Linked DNA regions of Homo sapiens: region 1 is linked to region 2. The links are contacts of gene promoters, found by promoter capture Hi-C in blood cells and fetal thymus (Javierre and others, 2016). All regions are on one chromosome and are shown on one strand. The core of a region is centred on a gene start or on the middle of the fragment in contact, and the rest is flanking DNA. Distances in the headings are between cores, read along the strand shown. Region 1 overlaps NDST1 (N-deacetylase and N-sulfotransferase 1). Region 2 holds the start of SMIM3 (small integral membrane protein 3).

Region 1 (3,006 bases), core at 322-2,821, 230 kb after region 2:
CATACTTTCTGACTCTAACTAACTTCTCTCTCTCATAATTATTCAAGACTTTGGCTTTGTTGGCCCAGGTGCCTTATCAGGGAAATAACCTGCAGAAAGGAAAAGGCAACACTCACGCCAAGGTTTTGTGGTAGTCAATGGTGTTGGTCACCCCAAGGAACTTCTGCACCATGTCCATCACTTTGGCAGGTTCTGTGCGAAGCAGTTTGCCATCCAAGACCAGAATCTGGAAAGGGAGAAAGGGGATCGGGACCTGCTTTGACTTCGGTGGCAAACAAGGGCAACAGCCACGGCAGCAGGAATGGGCCTGCTTATAAATATGGGACCCTGCACCCTCTAGAACTGGCTCCTCCTCCCCTGTTGAAGGGCAGGTATCCCCAAGCTCAGGCCTCTGTGGTCTCACGCCTGCTTTCCACCAGCTTCTGCTGCCCAATGCCATTTCTCCTAGAATTTAAGCTCTCACCAAACCCTGCCTGCCCCTCAGGTCCCTACAAACATCCCTCTCTGGCCTCTCTCTGAGCTTCCAGTCCATGTCACTCTCCTGCTCAAACACTCCGCAAGTTTGCCTAAAAGGCCTGGTATGGCTGGGCATGGCCGGGCACGGTGGCTCACACCTGTAATCTCAGCACTTTGGGATGCTGGGGTGGGCAGAGGACTTGAGGTCAGGAGTTCAAGACCAGCCTGGCCAACATGGTGAAATCCCGTCTCTACTAAAAATACAAAAATTATCTGGGCGTGGTGGTGCATGCCTGTAATTCCAGCTACTTGGGAGGCTGAGGTGGAAGAAACGCTTGAACCCGGGAGGCAGAGGTTGCAGTGAGCCAAGATCGTGCCACTGCACTCCAGCCTGGGAGACAGAGCGAGACTCCGTCTCTAAATAAATAAATAAATACATAAACAGCCTGGTATGATCAGGCTCTCCCTCCATCACCACGCCCAGTCTCCTTGCTCCCACCTGCCTGCCTCAGGGCTTTCTGGGTCCCTTTAGGGCTACAGGGCCTGTGGTGATGGGACACAGGCTTGGGGAGTTCTCATGTATCAACCTTGGGATAAACAGGTCTACAGTCTTTTTAGGCCAGGTGCAGTGGCTCATGCCTGTAATCCCAGCACTTTGGAAGACCAAGGGAGGACTGCTTGAGCCCAGGAGTTTGAGACCAGCCTGGGCAACATAGTAAGACCTTATTTCTTAAAAAAATAAAATTAGCTGGGTACAGTGGCTCACACCTGTAGTCCCAGCTACTCAGGAGGCAGAGGTGGAAGGATTGCGTGAGCTCGGGACATCGAGGCTATAGTGAGCTGAGATCACACCACTGCACTCCAGCCTGGGCAACAGAGTGAGACCCTGTCTCAAAATAATAATAATAATAATAAAATCTTTTTATAGACCCAAGGGTCTAGCTCTCCAAGGAGGGCATATCTGTCCCCACGGCTGGTGAGAAAGAGTTGGAGGCTCTCCGCTAACCACAGCAAGCCAGTACTGTGACTGCCCTCACAAGGGTCAGGGACAGCAGCTACCTGGTTGGCGTGATAGGCACTGAGCCAGCGCTCGATGTGGGTGGCGTACCAGCCAGGGACCAGGCAGCGGTTCTGGAGGGCACGCAGCTTCGAGGATGCGTCAGAGCCGGCGGTAATCACCTCATGGAAGGTGTACTTTAGGGCCACTGGGTCGTCATGGGCTCGCTGGTGCTGCAGGCAAGGAAAGAGGGTCAGCATGCCACTTGGAGGACACAAAGGAAGTGGCCTGAGAGGGACAGCAGCCCGCAAGGTGGCCAGAAGATCCTCAGCTGGACCCAGGAGCTCTGGGTCTGAGTCCTGGCTCTGCCTCTCACTGTGTCCAGTGTCAAGGGAAGCCACTGGTCCCAGAGCCCCAACTTCTCCATCTTTGAAATACGGGAACTGGACGAAATCAGGGTTTCCTGATGCCAGGCATGGTGGCTCATGCCTGTAATCCCAGAATTTTGGGAGGCTGGGGTGGGTGGATCACTTGAGGTCAGGAGTTCGAGACCAGCTGGCCAATGTGGCGAAACCCCGTCTCTACTAAAAATACAAAAATTAGCTGGCATGGTGGTGCACACCTGTGGTCCCAGCTACTCGGAAGGCTGAGGCACGAGAATCGCTTAAACTCGGGGGGTGGAGGTTGCAGTGAGCCAAGATCACGCTGCTGCACTGTTGTCATATATAGAAGGCAACCACTCACAAATGGCAATAAAAACAATGTTCTCAAACTCCAGCCAGACACAAATGTGTGCAACAGGCCCTGAACATGCTCTCTTTGTTGAAAGCAGAGGTTGACAGTGTTAGAAAGGACGTAAGACCACTTGCACTAAAGTGAGCATTTCTCCTTTATGGAAATCAGAAGGACTGGGAAAGAACTATAAAAGGGAGACTGGCTGGTCTGAATCACTTAAAATAATGCCATGGGAGGTCCGAATCTGCAGAATTCACTAAGTCCAGAAAGCCAGAGCTCAGGCACCTGTGCGACAGGCACTATCCCCCAGCCGCCAACCCCCTCCCCTGAGGATCACACACAGCCCAGGGCTGGGGCAATATGGTGCACAGCAGCGTCCTCCTCGTCCCGACCTCCTTCTGAGACAGGCCCCCACCCTTCCTCTCCTCCAACATCTTCCCAGGTCCTCCTGGGGAGAATGAGTCTCCCTTCTCCTTCTATCCCTTACCCCTCTTGATCATGGACAGAAAAAGGAATAGGGTCTTAGATTTAGAAGACTTGGATTCAAATGCCACCACATGAAACTTGCTGAAACTTGGTTTTCTAATCTTTGAGAAGGGGACACAAACGTGAAACCCCTCCTCTGCCTTCTAGAAACCAGCTGTGACTCTCCAGTAAGGTGCAGATGTACAGCAGTGTCAGTGCAGAACAGGGACTGACCCAACCTGTGGCGGCTCTCTCTCTACCCTACGTTCCCCCATGAAAGCAGACTGCCCATTCCCTGCACAGCGCCAGGAGGCGGGGGCACACAGCACGGCAGAAAACAGAAACACTTGACA
Region 2 (3,124 bases), core at 176-2,675:
TCTCCTAACCCCCAGAGTACCTGTTCTTCCCGCTCCCACCTCCACCTAATTCAGGCATCCCCAATCCTTCCAAACTATGTGGCCACTGCAGTAGCAGCACGCATCATAGCAGATGTTCAAGGAATCTCTGATACTTGTGTGATTGCGCAGCCTTCACCACCACACCCTGGAGCTTTGAGGACCTTAGTATTCACCACAGATGAACCGGAGACTCCTCAGCCCCCAGGTGCAGCAGGATTCCAGCTGGTCCAGAAGAAACAAGTGCAGCTGCATAAGTAAGAGCCCAGCCTGGCCCTCAATCAGAATAACAGCCCCTGAGGTTTGTTTCAATTTGTGGGGGGGGCGGGGGGGGTTACACCTTTCATCCTTTCACTCAGTACATATGTATGGAGCACCTACTGTTAGCCAGGCCCTGCTCCAAGAGCTGAGAATGCCTCAGAGATGACGATAGACAGGCAGTCCCTACCCTCAAGAAACTGGCATGGGGGAGACTAGGGAGCAAAACAACCAGCAACTGGAACAACTACGTCCTCAGGAAAGGGACAGCTAACCAGCAGGAGGGAGCTTGAAGGAAGCCTTCTCTCCAAGATACTTTGCTCATGTCCTTTCTCCTTTGCTTTCTGCACGCAGAAAATGTTTTCCCAATTTCACTGATGGAAAAACAAGGATGGTGAAGCAGTTAGTGACAGAACCAGGGCTGGAACCCGCCACTCCTGACTCCAAACTCCTGGCGCCTTCTACACGGGGCCTCGAGAAAAGCGGGACAGGTAAGTGCAAAGACCCAAACCCAGCGCAGCGCCCAAGCAGGTGCTCAGGCCCGGGCGCTGAACCCTGACGCTGGGCCTGGAGAGCCAGGAGGTGGCAGTCTGCCCGAGGAGGAGGCTTCCCGAGAAGGCAAGGGCAGCGGACCCGGAGAGAAGCCAGTCTCCGAGTGGGGCTGGGGTTCGCCCACCCAAGCTCCGCCTCCCCCAGGCCCAAAATTCTGTGCACTAGGAGGCTCGAACTTAAGAGCTGACAGCAGGAGAAAAAGGAGGGGGTGAGGGCAAGAAATACAAAAGTGATGAAAAGGGAGAAATGGGGAGGAGAGACCGGACATAAAGAAGAACGTTGGGAGCCCGGGGAAAGGGGCCGCACTAGAGGTAGGTCGCGAATCCGAAGAGCTCCGCTCTGCCAGAGCCCCACAAACAATCCCCCGGTGGCCCCACTCACCCCAGATGGCGGCGAGTCTGCGGAAAGTTCCTGGGTCAGGGATGGCTCGGTGCTTCTCAGGGTCCCCAGGACTGCACGGGATCTGGCAGCTGGAAGCGACCCCCAGGCCTGGAACCTCAGCCCTAGGCAGCTCCTGGAACGTGCCCCGGCTCCTCCGAGCCCCGGGAGGCGGGAGAGCGCAGGAGCGGCCAGGACGCGCTGCTGGCTCTGGAATGCGCGGCTGCTGGGGACCGCCCCCGGAACGCCCGGTCCCGGGGCCCCGGCAACTCCAGCTCAGCTCCTCCTCCAGCGTCCCCTGCGGGCTGCGTTCGGGGAGAAAGGAACCTGCGAGAGAAGGGAGAGACCAGGGCGTCTCGGGCTCCCCTTCCACGTTGCCACACACTCGCCGCGTAGCCGTGGACATGTCGCTTGGCTTCTGAGGGTCTCCCCTCTCTGGATTGTAAACCGAGAGGGTTGGCCTAAAATGTGTCCTCCACGACCTTTCCAGCTATAGAGTAGACATGGGAAAGAAAGCCTAGCAAGTAGGTTTGGACAGAGGAGCCGGGACTCAGATCCTGCTTTGCGATGTCCGAAGTGTAGGGTCCTTCGGAGGCTTTGCCACTCTGTTTCATTCTCTGTAAAGTGGGAAAGGTAACACCTGTCTCCCAGTCCTGTTGTGAGGATTGGTTTAGAGGACCAGTGTGAAGCTGGTTGGTTCTCTGCCATAACATGACTTGGAGCATCCTGTTTATTTTGTGATAACAATGAAATAGCCCAATCCAAGGTGATCAAGAGCCCATTAGAATCCAGCATCTGAGAGGCTTCCCACGCCACTGTGGGTGGCCCAGCTTCCACGCAGGACAATGCCAATTCTGTAATCTTCTGCCCCCTCTATGTCATCCATGGAGTGAGGGGGGACTCCCGTCCCATGTTGGCACCCACACTTTTTAATTCACAGTGGTTTTCTTTAATCTTACTCTTCTGAAAAAAAGGAGCACAAGCCTTGACTATCAGTGAGACCTTGAGCAGTCTTGGAGCCCAGTAGTGTTTTGGAGGGTTTGGAAAGAGCCATACTGCCTTCCCCAGGCCTAAATTTGATATGGTGTGGGCCCCGAACTTAGAACTTACTCCATGCTGTTTCCTCTGATTCAGGGATGAGGTCAGCAGAAATGACCTCTAAATCATCATTATCACACGCCAGTTTCTTAAGGGAAGGACAGTGAGGATGAAGGGGATTCACATGAGAAATGATTTGAGAAAAACCCTAAGGGCTGTCACCCAACAACATGTTTTATTCAAAAGAGATAGTGTGGGAACCTAAAAACAAGGACAACCCAATTCTGAATAGTTTAATACAAAGCTCTCATTTAATAGTAAAAAAAGATTGAAGGAGGACAATCTTTTTTTTTTTTTTTTTTTTTTTTGAGACGGAGTCTCGCTCTGTCGCCCAGGCTGGAGTGCAGTGGCATGATCTCGGCTCACTGCAACAGGAGGACAATCTTAATATGACATTTTCCCTGGTTAGTGAAGGGGATGAGAGTTCCTTTGGGTGGACAACTGGTAACTCCATGTGCCCTGCTGTGAACATTGGCTTCCCTCTGGGACAAGGCAGAAGCTCAGGCCTGGAGCCAGCTGAGTCCTAGTCTCCCTTTCCATTTAGCAATTTATTAGTATCTCTTTAATATCGACTTGCCCTGGGACCCTAAAAGCAAGCCAGAAATAAAGTATGAATCCCCACAGGAGCATACCATGTTAAGTCTGCTGCCTAGGCTAGACTGATTTTGCAAAGAGAGCACTGAAGGGAAGAATAATGGATGCTGTGTTGGGATGCAGGAGTGGGGGAAATAGTCAATTTCAGCAACAAGCTTTTGTTACAGCAAAAGCCAGAAAACAGCTCACAACTTCCTTGGTCCTCTATTACAACCACTCCAAAGAG

What was found. The method cuts DNA at HindIII sites, captures the fragments that hold promoters and counts their contacts. A CHiCAGO score of 5 or more calls a contact.
Region 1: a contact is called between a fragment that was not itself captured here and the fragment with the promoter of SMIM3 in region 2, in 6 of 17 cell types (M2 macrophages, megakaryocytes, neutrophils and 3 more). The highest score is 7.9, in M2 macrophages.

What each region holds. Positions count from the first base shown.
Region 1 is chr5:150,546,898-150,549,903 of GRCh38, reverse strand. It overlaps NDST1 (N-deacetylase and N-sulfotransferase 1), which reads right to left. Exons shown (of 15, transcript NM_001543.5): 12 at 1,516-1,686; 13 at 117-226. Among named protein-coding and RNA genes, the nearest start is that of NDST1, 40 kb to the right of the region's middle. RefSeq lists an enhancer at 2,912-3,006. The HindIII fragment of the contact is 5,123 bases long and covers 1-3,006 here.
Region 2 is chr5:150,777,058-150,780,181 of GRCh38, reverse strand. It overlaps SMIM3 (small integral membrane protein 3), which reads right to left and starts at 1,425. Exons shown (of 2, transcript NM_032947.5): 1 at 1,210-1,425. LOC124901110 reads left to right here. Exons shown (of 2, transcript XM_047417995.1): 1 at 1-275; 2 at 631-3,124. The coding sequence starts at 1,061. The coding sequence ends at 1,702. RefSeq lists an enhancer at 42-903 and a silencer at 1,341-1,530. The HindIII fragment of the contact is 6,508 bases long and covers 1-3,055 here.